Regions from separate parts of the Homo sapiens genome. Here regions 1 and 2 are each linked to region 3. The links are contacts of gene promoters, found by promoter capture Hi-C in blood cells and fetal thymus (Javierre and others, 2016). All regions are on one chromosome and are shown on one strand. The core of a region is centred on a gene start or on the middle of the fragment in contact, and the rest is flanking DNA. Distances in the headings are between cores, read along the strand shown.

Region 1 (3,940 bases), core at 203-2,702, 1.8 Mb after region 3:
AAGCTGTAGATTGCCTTGGGAGTGGTTGTATAATCCAGAGTGAGTGCAGGGAGATGAGAAGGTCTAAGCCTGGGACCTGGGAAACCCCAACAGTTAAGAGACACCAACAAAGGATGTGAAGGATGCACCTCGGATGCTAGGAGCTGCTGACAGGAAAGCTGAAGAGACTCTGCATGGGCTTGTGTTATCTATTGCTGCATAAAAAATTATCCTGGGATGGCCAGGCATGGTGGCTCACACCTGTAATCCCAGCACTTTGGGAGGCTGAGGCAGGTGGATCACCTGAGGTCAGGAGTTCAAGACCAGCCTGACCAACATGGAGAAACCCTGTCTCTATTAAAAATCCAAAATTAGCCAGGCGTAGTGGCGCATGCCTGTAATCCCAACTACTCAGGAGGCTGAGGCAGGAGAATCACTTGAACACTGGAGGTGGAGGTTGCGGTGAGCCGAAATTGTGCCATTGCACTCCAGCCTGGGCAAAAAGAGCGAAACTCTATCTCAAAAAAAAAAAAATTATCCTGGGATTTAGCACCTTGAAGCAATTAGCACCCACTGTCTCGGTGTCTGTGGATCAGGGATCTGGACACGATGCCACTGGGTGCCTCTTCTTCAAGGTCTTTCAAGGCTGCAGGCAAGGTATTGGCCAGGGCTGCTGTCTCCTCTGAAGGCTCATCTTCAGGAGGATCCCCTTCCAAGCTTCTTCACATGATAGGATTCAGGTCCTCATAGGCTGTTGGACTGAAGACTTAGTTTCCCACTGGCTCTTGGGTGGGGGCCTCTCTACAGAGCAGCTTACAACCTGGCAGCTGGTTTCTTTCAGAGCAAGCGAACAAGAGAGAGAGGCCATACAAGACAGATGCCATGTCTTGGAAGTGATATTCCTTTACTTTTGCCATATTCTCTTAGCGAGAAGTGAGTCCTGAGGTCCGGCCCACACTGAAGGAGAGGAGATCCTAGCAGGGCTGGGGATTATCAGGAGCCCTCCCAAAGGCCACTGAAGAGAGCAGTCAAGATGGTGGATGGGGTCAGCTGGCTGCCCAGAGGTCATCTGATAAGGACTAGGAGCTGTTAGTGGCCCTGGCGATAGCAGATCTGGGCTGGCCGGTGTGTCTGGAGTCAGACACTACATTGAAGTGTGTTGACAGGTAGGATGCAGGGAAGTGAGAAGGGTGAATGTGAGTTACTAGTTGGAGGCTGGAGTGCTTTTATGTCACCCAAAGATGTATGGGTCAGAGAGGCATTCCCAGGTGTGGAATGGACTGTGAGAGCTGGGACAGGCACTGGAGTGGGATATGGCTTTTTCTCAGATGAGAGGTTCTTGGACATGTTTAAACACTGGTTGGGGGCAGGGTAGGAGAGACAGAAAGGTGGGTGGGGTGAGTAGGCAGCCTCTATTATGGCCCTGATGGCCCTTGCCTTCTGGTATTCACACCCTTGTGTGATCTCCTCCCAACAGCATAGGACAGATGTGGTTGGATGTTACTTTGGAGATTCAGTTACAAAAAGACTGCAGCTTTGCTCACTCTGAGAGAAGGCAGCATCCATGTCTTGAGGACACTCAGGCAGCCTGGGACAGGCTTGGGGAGTGAGGAGCTGGGACCCCAGCCAACAGTCATGCTGGACTTGCTCCAGGACACATCACCTTGGGGTTTGCTCTTCCCAGGTCAGTAGGCATCCAGCGCTGGGGCAGCTGCTTCAGGACATCGCCGAGGACAAGTCTCCTCCCCATTCTGGTTCCACCATCTGTAGCCTGTGGCTTTCATCCTCAAGGGCTCCATGCGACCGCTGCACATCCAGGTACTACATCTGACCCATGTATTGAGCCAGCTCAGCTGTGATCAAGCGCAGCCTTTTTCCTCCGTAAGAACTGCCCATTGGCGTAGTTGTGAACTGAGGCAGAGGAGCTGCTGTGGCAGTGGTAGGTGATGTGGATGTACAACGGATTGCTTACAGTCTCAGTGGATTGCTGCTAGGCCCACCCACCTGAATTTACATATTAGAGGGCCTGACAGAACCCAGTTCATGAGGGGCAGCTCTGGCCTCATGGTCACTTGATGTCCCCTAGTCATCTCTACCAGGGTCCAGTAGCCTGGCAGAGCTGCTTTGTGAATGGTGTCTAGTTCTCTACTATAGATGACCTGGTCTTGCTCCAGAACCCTAGGGGGTCTACTTTGTGGTTTTTCCCACCAGAGCTTGCTGTAAGCTTCACACAGCATATCTTCCCACCATGTATGCCTCTAGTATCATGGGGTCTGTGGGTCCCATAGCCTGAGGGACAGCCTTTGATGTCATGTGACCCAGAGATATGTGGGTCAGAGCAGCACTCCCAGGTGTGGAATCTGCTACCTCCAGAACCCAAAGAGGCCTCTAAGCATTGTGCTTGCTCTTCTGTGATGGAGTGTGCAGGGGGATGTTCTGGTGTGCCCCACACCACCAGACCCCTACAAACCTCACTGATGTGGCAAGCCCCTAATTCTTCATAGGGTTTAATCTTCTGCCCGCTGGAGCACATATGTCTCATCAAGTTTTCCATGTACTTGTCACCTCCTGCTCATCCATCCTGATTAGCACATTGTCATTGACACCATGAACCAGTGCAGTGTTCTGCAAGACGTTCAGATGGCCCAGTCTCCTTCAGACTGTGATGACAAAGGATGGGAAAGGTATCATTGGCCTGGGGCAAGACCATATGTGTGTATTGTTGGCCGTTCCTATGAGTGCAAATGGTCCCTGATAGGGATGAAAAAGTGTGGTGATCAGATGGCCCCTGAGAAGCGGGGGCCGTGCTGATCTGTCTGTGCTAGCAATGCACCTGCACAGCACCTGTGGTCAGGGCTACCACTTGGCTGAATCTGCAATAGTCCATTGCCACTCTGTTTATTTTTATAAGGTCAGACTGATGAATTAAATAGGTACATGGTGGGGGATACCCTCCACACGTCTTTGGTCTTCAAGGGTGGCACCAGTCTCCGCCATTTTCTCTGGTGTGTGATGTTGTTTATGTGCTTGCTCTCTTGGCCGGGGTGGGTGGTGGTGATAGTGGGGTCTCAGAGGCTTTCACTTGACTTTTACTACCATCACTCTCACCCCATAGACCAAGGAACCAGTGCAGGCATTTTGTTTACTACACAGGATGTCTATCCCAGTGATATATTGAGCTTGATCTTGATGGTCCTATGACAGTTGCACCCACTTTGCTTCTCACGCCTAAGCACTACCATCTGGCGTCTGTTATCTGGGGATTGCTGTCATCCCCATGGCTATCAGGGAGCCCAGTTCTGTAGCAGCATCTCCTACTGTCAGCCGTGGCCACCCCTGAGCCTGCTGTAGGGTGATGAAGAACCTGAGAGTCAGATCTGTTTATTAAGCTACTATTCATTTAATGTTGCAGATGCCACGCTCTGTCCTGTGTGTAGTGGATACTGCAGTGAATTAGCCACTGCCTCAGCTCTCAAAGGCAGATACCTTTGGTTATTTCACAAATACAACAAAATCCCACAGAAACTTAGATATGGGGTTCAAAACTCAAGAGAAGAAAATGCAGAATTCTCCAAGTCTCAAAAGGCAGAAAAATAAAAATAGAGGGTTTAAGATTCTTCCTGGGGCCTGAAAGCTTAAGATGAATAACTCCTCCCTTCTCAGGCCCAGTTCCAAGGTGCAAGGCTACTTGTGCCAGCAAGATAGCAGAAGCAGGACAAGAGCTGGCTGGAAGACACCTACCGTGGTGGGAAGACATGTACCCGTGAAGATCGAGAAAGAGTCCATCCGGGTACAACGTAGCAGTTACGTCAGACTAGGACACTTCCTGTTTACAGGAGACTATAAAACCTTTGCCGCGTCCTCACTTGGGGCTGATGCCATTTTAGGCCTCAGCCCACCTGCACCCAGGCGCTCATTAAAACAGCATGTTGCGGCCGGGCGCGGTGGCTCACGCCTGTAA
Region 2 (4,005 bases), core at 1,104-3,603, 1.3 Mb after region 3:
TGACTCCTGCTCCTCCCAGAGGTTCACATATCAAATTAAATGTCATCAGAAAGACACTCCAGGATCACTTTCTAGCCACTCGTTCTCTCTCATCATCCCTTTTTCTTCATAGTAGTGATGAAGATTATGTGTGCAATGTTTGTATGTTTGTATCCCTCCCTAAAACATGAGCTCCACAAGTACAAGGCTTTTCTGCCTTGCCTTCGTTACCCTCGGCACCTAGAACAGTGACTGCAGTGCACTGGCACTCAGTGTTAGTTGGATGAGTGTGTGACTTGTGTAGGCCAGGGACTGAGATTTTTCCCCTTGTGAAACATTTTAATATTGATTTATTATTTCTTTCCATTGTGGTGTGTAGGCATGTGGCGTCATAGTAGAATTAATCAAAAGCAAGAAAATGGCTGGAAGAGCTGTCTTGTTGGCAGGACCTCCTGGAACTGGCAAGGTACTCATTTTCTCTCATTTTTTAAATCTACCCAGGAGAATGATCCTAGTGTCTAAGCCAAATTGAATTCATGTCTTAACTAGTCTTTGTTTAGCTAAATGGGTTATATGTATGTTTTTAAAATTAATATGCAATAATACAATTGGGTATCTAAAATCCCTGCTTCTAAAATTCAAATTATCCTGGCCTACCTCCAGAGAAGAAAGAATGAAGTCCTTGAAGGGGTCTCATTGTCTCTAGAATTTGTCCTTTTTCTCTTTCAAGTCTCCTTTGCTGTGGAAATACATTTCTGTTGGCCTAGGGCTTCATAAAGATCTTCTGAGTGACATCTTACTTGAGGGGACAAAAAAATGAGTCAAGCATTCTTCCAAATGCTAGCTTTACGCATCGCTATTGTGGCTGTGTGGGAGATGAAAAAAAGGAAAACAAGAATTAGAGACATGATTTTTATCTTCAAGGGGCTTACAGTCTCTCCAGGGCAGAAAGAAAGGAAATCATGACAGCACAGGAGGACTCAGTATGAGTGCTCAGCTTTGAGGTATTGACTAATATTAAATGCAGCTGGAATTTAAGGAGGCAGCACTGTGGGCTGGTACAGCTGGAAGGGTTGAGACTTGACATTTTCCCTTCAGAGCTGGGAGAGGATTTGGCTTTGCAGGGAAGATAAGGGCCTTTCAGGCAGAGGACACCGTGTGGCTTCTTGGGATTCGTGAGGGGACTGGCCAGATACTTGAAACTCACCAGAGTTCCCAATTTGAGCTTGCTTATTCTTCAAAAGGGCCGCTTGATGTGGGCAAGTAGGAGCTTGGGGTTGTGTGTGAAAAGAAATGGGCTTTAAATTCCAGCTCTAGTATTGACTTGCTATGAGACCTGAGGCAGGTCCCTTAACTTTTCTAAGCAAAAGCATACTCTACCTATTTCAAGCAATTATTAAACTGATCGATTGTAAGATAATGACTTGCATTATAATTTTGAAATGATTACTGATTGTGTATCTTATATTGGTATCTTACAAGAGGAAGAAGTGCTATATTTGTGAACAGTTTTTTCTCTTCCTATATAAAAGCAAATTGTGAACAGTTTTTTAAACTGTAAAGTGCCATACAGATGTGAGCTTCAGTTACCTCTCTCCAGGCAACATTAGCTTGTCCAGTGCATTTACCATTTATTTGCTTGCTATTCCTTATATCTTAGACCTTCTCTTTCCCTCCATTTTTCTTCTTCCTAAAGTAAATAATTTAGAAATTTCTTCTAGAAGTTTGTTGGTGGGAAAGTCTCTCACGTTTGCATTCATTATGTTGCCCTTGTTTTGAAAAAGAGCTATGTTGGCTATATAATTCAGTTGACAGATATTTTCTTCAGTACTGTTTCACAGTACTTCTCTCTCAATGTTATTTGCTCCTTTGGCTTCTGTTGTTTTTGAGAAGTCTAATTTTGAGGGTTTTGAGTCTTCTTTCTGCATGTTTTTGAGATATTTTTGGGTTTGGTGTTTCACTATTATATGTCAGAGTGGATTAATTTTTGTTTATCATGCTTAATGCTAATTGTGCTTCTTGAATCTGAGTATTATGTCTCTGCTCAATTCTGGAAAATTGTCAGCCTTAGGAGAATCGCTTGAACCTGGGAGGCAGAGGTATCAGTGAGCCAAGATCATGCCATTGCACTCTAGCCTGGGTGACAGAGCAAGACTACGTCTCAAAAAAAAAAAAAACAAAAAAACTGTCAGCGTTAATCTCTTCAGCTATTGCCTTTCCCCATTCTCTTTGTTCTTTCCTTCTGGAACTCCACTGAGATGAGGTTAAGATTGCAGTGGTTTTCAACCTGGGGCAGTTTTGCCCTTGCAGGGGACTTTGACAACGTCTGGAGACATTTTTGGTTCTCACGACTTGGTTGGGGGTGCTACTGGCATCTAGTGGGTGGAGGCCAGGGATGCTACTAAACATCCTGTAGTGCACAGAGCAGTTTCCATAATAAGGAATTATCTGGCCACAAACGTCATGGAGTCAAGCTGAGAAACCCTGGGCTAGAGCTTCTCGTTTTGTCCTCTTTGTCTTTTAGCCTCTCATATTTGTTATCTTTTTGACTCTGCTAAATTATGGGTAATTTCTTTTAGATCTTTGTTCCAGTCTAATTGTCTCTTAAGCTATGATTAAGTGACTGATTAATCCAATCTATTGAATATTTTTTTCCTTTTCATTTTGAAAAGTTTGGAACCTACAAAAAACTTGAAAGAATAGTGTGATGAGCCCCTCTATACCCTATACCTAGATAGCCAGTTATAAATATTTTGTGACATTTGCTTTTTCTCTAGTTTATTTCTGAACCACTTGACAGTAAGTTGTAAGGATGTCTTCCTACATGACCACGGTGCCATCATCAGACCCACCTTGCTAATGCTATTATATTCCCCCAATTTTTGTCAATTAAAAATTAAATTAATTAATTTTTAAAAAATGAGCAGCAGAGCCAGGGAGAGAATGGTGTCTCAGGAACCAAGAAAGGAGAACCTTTAAAGAAAGGAGTAGGTAACCATATCCACTGTGGTAGAGAAATCACAAAGATGAGGGAGCCTGGCAGCTCATCATATGATTCCATGAGCAGTTAACAAATGTGCTTTCAAAGACAACGAAGTTAAATTGTTTTAATGAAAAGAAAATATAGGTGATAGAAATCAGAAAACATCTTTCCAAGTTGTTTCAGTTTTTGGCTTTTTAAAAAACACCAGAATATCAAAATGCAATCAAAGATTACACACTGCATAAATTGTTACAAGTTATAATGTCTTTTTTTTTTTTTTTTGAGATGAAGTCTCGCTCTCTTGCCCAGGGTGGAGTACAGTGGCGTGATCTTGGCTCACTGCAATCTCTGCCTCCCAGGTTCAAACGATTCTCCTGCCTCAGCCTCCTGGGTAGCTGGGATTACAGGTGCCTGGCTAATTTTTGTATTTTTAGTGGAGATGGGGTTTCATCATGTTGGTCAGGCTGGTCTCGAACTCCTGACTTTAGGTGATCCACCTGCCTTGGCTTCCCAAAGTGCTGGGATTACAGGCGTGAGCCACTGTGCCTGGCCCCCAGATGTATTTTGTTATGGCCCACCTTTTTTACTCATGTGTGGCCCTTCAAGAGTCCTCTTTTATGTTTTTTTTTTAATTGTAATGTTTTTGTTTGTTTGTTTGTTTTTTGAGACAGTTTCAGTCTGTCGCCCAGGCTGGAGTGCAGTGGTCTGTTACCCAGGCTGGAGTGCAGTGATCTCGGCTCACTGCAGTCTCTACCTCTTGGGTTCAGGTGGTCCTCCCACCTCAGCCTCCTGAGTAGCTGGGACTACAGGTGCACACCACCACGCTTTGGCTAATTTTTGTAGTTTTCGTAGAGATGGGGTATCGCCATTTTGCCCAGGCTGGTCTTGAACTCCTGGGCTCAAGCAATCCACCTGCCTCGGCCTCCCAAAGTGCTGGGATTGCAGGCTTGAGCCACCGTGCCCAGTCCCGGTTTTATTCAGGGGTTTCTATCTTAAGTGCTATACCTTGCTGAGCTTTCCTGTATCTACAGTCTCTGAACTTT
Region 3 (3,888 bases), core at 738-3,237:
CTCTGCAGTTTGCCACACTCTATTACTCTGACATTGAAGCCAAATGTTCAGTTGCCAGCTATCATCAGCTTGTGCTATAGGTACGTTTATAATAAAGTTAAAAGTAAAATGATTTTTTAAAACTCAAATCTCTATTAAAAGTACAAATGAAAGATTCACTGATACGGCTGTGTTTCAAGAAAAATGGGGTACAGAATACAAGACTATTCCTAGGGAAAACATACAATTCCTAGTGTTGAAGATGCAAATAAACATCTCCCATTTATGTTACCTGCCTGTCTCCTGCAGACATTTGAGTTTGCCACGTCTGTAACATAAGGAAAAATTAATGTAGTGGCTGAGAGCGTTGACGTTGGAGTGAGGAAGACCTGAGCTTGAAAGCTGGTTCCACCCCTCACTGTGTGACGCTGGCAAATTATCCACCCTCTCTGGGCTTCAGTTTCCTCATACATAAAATAGAGGAAATTATAGTACCTACCTTAGAGAGTGGTGAAGACACAACGAGATAAAGGATATGAAGTGCTTAGCCAGCACCTGGCACATAGTGTCAGCTACCACTAGTGCCGAACACAAAAGAGAGGACCCGTCTCCAACGTGAGCCTTGAAGGATGTTCAGGATTTCCGTGTGAGATGAGGAGAGACGGCATGCTTTACACAGAGAAAGATCTCAGAAGGGACAGAACCAAAGACAAGTAACCTGCTCCAGTGGCCAGAACAGAGGCTTCACAACAATGCTGAATGATTTTCAAAGTCAGGCCAAGACCTATCCCATAAGTAAGAATATGACAAAACAGACTGCTATGTTATAGATTTAGGCGATAACAATGGAATAGGACATTAAATAACTGAATCAAAAGGTGACAAAGTCATTCCCCTTCAGTTCTTTTTCAGACTTCCCAATTAGGAGAGCTTGTGTTTGGTGCTCATTTTGAGCACCTTTCTGATCATACCTGCCCATCTCCAGTTTTAGAGAAACGAGATCTCAGGTTTAAAGGCTCCCTAGCAACAATAGCTAGCTACAGCTTGTTCAGTTTTGTTTCTCCCTACTTTAAGTTTTACTTTTACACTTAGAGCAAGCGACGCTGATTTTATCTTAACATTTAGAGCAAGTGACACTGGTTTTCATAAATGGAGTAATAAAGTTTCCTTGTAAAATGTGAAATCATAATTAAAATAAATGAGACAATTTAGAGAAAAACGTCAAGAAAACAAGAGTATGGGTACTATGTGGATGTGGCAAGAACTGTGAAGCTTGAGCAGCTTCGTGCTGTCTCGTGGGTGTGAGATGAATCCAAGGCAGCGACAGGGCCAGACCGTGAGGGAAGAGCCGCCTCCACCCGCCACCACCTCAGGCGCGGCACCTCCCTTTGCCGCTCTCCAACCCTCGGGAGTTTCTCCAACCGCCAAGGGGCGGGAGGGCGACCCTGCAGTCTCCCAGGCCGGGGTTCAGTGCCCTCGGCCCAGGCAGCAAGCCCGCTGCCCCCCTCAAACACGCTGCAGCGGCTCGCGCACTCCCCGCGAGGACTCGACCTCCTGCTCTTCGCGAACCGCCCCGCTCCTCACCAGTGCTCGGCTTTATCTCTCCACGTCAACACGGCCCTCATCACGGCTTCCCTTACGGCTCGGGCTCCTCCTACCCGCCTCAGCGTCTGTCTCAGCAACCGCCTCACTAACGGTCGCCACTCCACAAGCCACTTTGGCTACCTGCGTTACCCCTGGCAACGTACATGCGCGGTAAGCTGAGTGCGAGGGCGCCTTGCTCCGAGCGCGCATGTCCGAAAGGGAAAGCCAGAAAAGCAGCAAAAGCAATGGTGGCACTGGAGCCCCTAAGGCGCCAGCGCAACCAGAGCGCGAGCGATTGGTCGGGGCGTGTGGGGGCGGTGCGTCTTCCTCGAGAATGGATTTGATTGGTGGAGCGTGGAAATGGCGGCTGTAGCCGAGGGGGCGGCCGGAAAGCAGCGGCGGCGTCTGGGGCGCTTTCGCAACATTCAGACCTCGGTTGCAGCCCGGTGCCGTGAGCTGAAGAGGTTTCACATCTTACTCCGCCCCACACCCTGGGCGTTGCGGCGCTGGGCTCGTTGCTGCAGCCGGACCCTGCTCGATGGGCACGACTGGGCTGGAGAGTCTGAGTCTGGGGGACCGCGGAGCTGCCCCCACCGTCACCTCTAGTGAGCGCCTAGTCCCAGACCCGCCGAATGACCTCCGGTAAGTTACTGTCCCCTTTTGGGCCTCAGTTTCACCACCTGTAAAATGGTATCGGGAGAGTGGACAGTGTGTGGGCCTTTCTAACCTTTGACAGAGGGTCGGCAGAAACCTCGAAGCCCACGGGTTTAGTTACTAGGGTCTGGAGCCCAGGTGCTCTTCCTGTGCGATCAGCCCTGGGGTGCGCTCGACTTCCTCATCTAAGATGACTAGGGAGACTGGGGGGGAGCCGGGAGGTTTTGTGAAAGAGGTCCCCTTGGGGTTGGAGGATCCTAGGAAGTCATTAGACTACGTGTGTGATAGGAGGTTAAGATTTACCTACTTTTTTCAAAATTTAATACTAAGAACTACTTTGAAAGAGGCATCACCTTCTTTTTACAGAGTCTTTTACCGAGACTTTGAGATGTTAAGTAACTTGCTGCTAAACTTACAGCTGGTAGAGCTGGAATTTGAGCCCCAGTCTCTTAAGAGTTTGTGCTGATTCCACCAGGCTTCAGTATTTTTATCTCTAAAATTGTAAACAATATCATTTCATAAGATCCATCCAGCTCCTCAAAATTATTTTACCCCAAATTACATCAGAAAACCTTGATTCTAATTCTAGTTCTTGCAGTTTCCCTATTTGTAGAAAAGAACTTGGGTTAAATGATCTCTCTAGACCCATCCACCTTTTACAATCTGTGGTTTAGTGATTAGGATACACTTTACTGAAATTTTTTTTTTAATTTTAAAAGTATGTTTTCATCATAGAAGACACATTGGAACTTTAATGAAGTTTTAGTTTAGTGGGTTTTTTTTTGAGATGAGGTCTCGCTCTGTCACCCAGGCTGGAGTGCAGTGGCACAATCATAGCTCCCTGAAGCCTTGACCTGCCGGACTTAAGCAGTCCTCCTACCCCGGCCTCCTTAGTAGCTGGGACCACAGGTATGCTCCACCACGCCCGGTTGCTTGTTTTTTTTTGTTTTTTTGGGTTTTTTTTTTCATTTTTTGCAAAGACGAGGATCTCACTGTGCTCTCCAGGCTGGTCTCAAACTCTTGGGATCAGGTGATCTTCCCACTTCCTCCTCCCAAAGTGCTAGCATTACAGGAATGAGCCACCTTGCCTTGCCAGCTTTTTTCAATAACAGTATGGGGGAGAAGTATTAGACCAAGATTTGGTAGACTTGGGTTCTCGTGTCTGTTCTGCAAGTAATTTAACCTGTCACTCAATTTTATCAATAAATTGAGAGTAAACCTTATTGTACCTACAAGGTTACCATGAGGATCAAGAATGAAGAAGATTCAAAAATTCTGTATCAAATTATTTACCTTCTGGAGGATTACATCTGATGAAAGTGATACACACTCTCTCCCAGAAATTTTACATTATGTAAAACTTTTACCTCATTTATTTGCAGAGAAGACAGTGTAACTCACTGATTTATTTAAGCATTTTCTGGTGCTTAAGAGCTTAGCTATTGGTTCATATTCTCAAATTTATGGTAAGTGCCCCCAGAAATCTTTATAATAGCCCTACTCAGTGATTAATCCGAAAAGTTTCTAGCTTGACTTTTTTGTTGTGCAGAGATTTCCAACACCTTTTAACCTGTGCTAGAGGATATGGGAAGCTTTTGGAAGACAGGAAAATACTCCCATAGCACAAGACTGGTCCACACTGACTTTAATCTCCCTCATTTTAATATGGAT

The links. The method cuts DNA at HindIII sites, captures the fragments that hold promoters and counts their contacts. A CHiCAGO score of 5 or more calls a contact.
Region 1: a contact is called between a fragment that was not itself captured here and the fragment with the promoter of MBD4 in region 3, in 1 of 17 cell types (activated CD4 T cells). The highest score is 6.1, in activated CD4 T cells.
Region 2: a contact is called between a fragment that was not itself captured here and the fragment with the promoter of MBD4 in region 3, in 1 of 17 cell types (activated CD4 T cells). The highest score is 8.1, in activated CD4 T cells.

Annotation. Positions count from the first base shown.
Region 1 is chr3:127,592,657-127,596,596 of GRCh38, reverse strand. It overlaps a transcript of TPRA1 not described here. Among named protein-coding and RNA genes, the nearest start is that of MCM2, 3.8 kb to the left of the region's middle. The HindIII fragment of the contact is 1,507 bases long and covers 699-2,205 here.
Region 2 is chr3:128,115,768-128,119,772 of GRCh38, reverse strand. RUVBL1 (RuvB like AAA ATPase 1) reads left to right here. Exons shown (of 11, transcript NM_003707.3): 2 at 359-445. Among named protein-coding and RNA genes, the nearest start is that of RUVBL1, 6.0 kb to the left of the region's middle. The HindIII fragment of the contact is 4,805 bases long and covers 1-4,005 here.
Region 3 is chr3:129,438,047-129,441,934 of GRCh38, reverse strand. It overlaps MBD4 (methyl-CpG binding domain 4, DNA glycosylase), which reads left to right and starts at 1,987. Exons shown (of 8, transcript NM_001276270.2): 1 at 1,987-2,205. The coding sequence starts at 2,102. It overlaps IFT122 (intraflagellar transport 122), which reads right to left and starts at 1,711. Exons shown (of 30, transcript NM_052989.3): 1 at 1,564-1,711. The coding sequence starts at 1,604. RefSeq lists enhancers at 708-757, 1,158-1,207, 1,238-1,287, 1,438-1,647, 1,848-1,987 and 1 more. The HindIII fragment of the contact is 2,558 bases long and covers 1,254-3,811 here.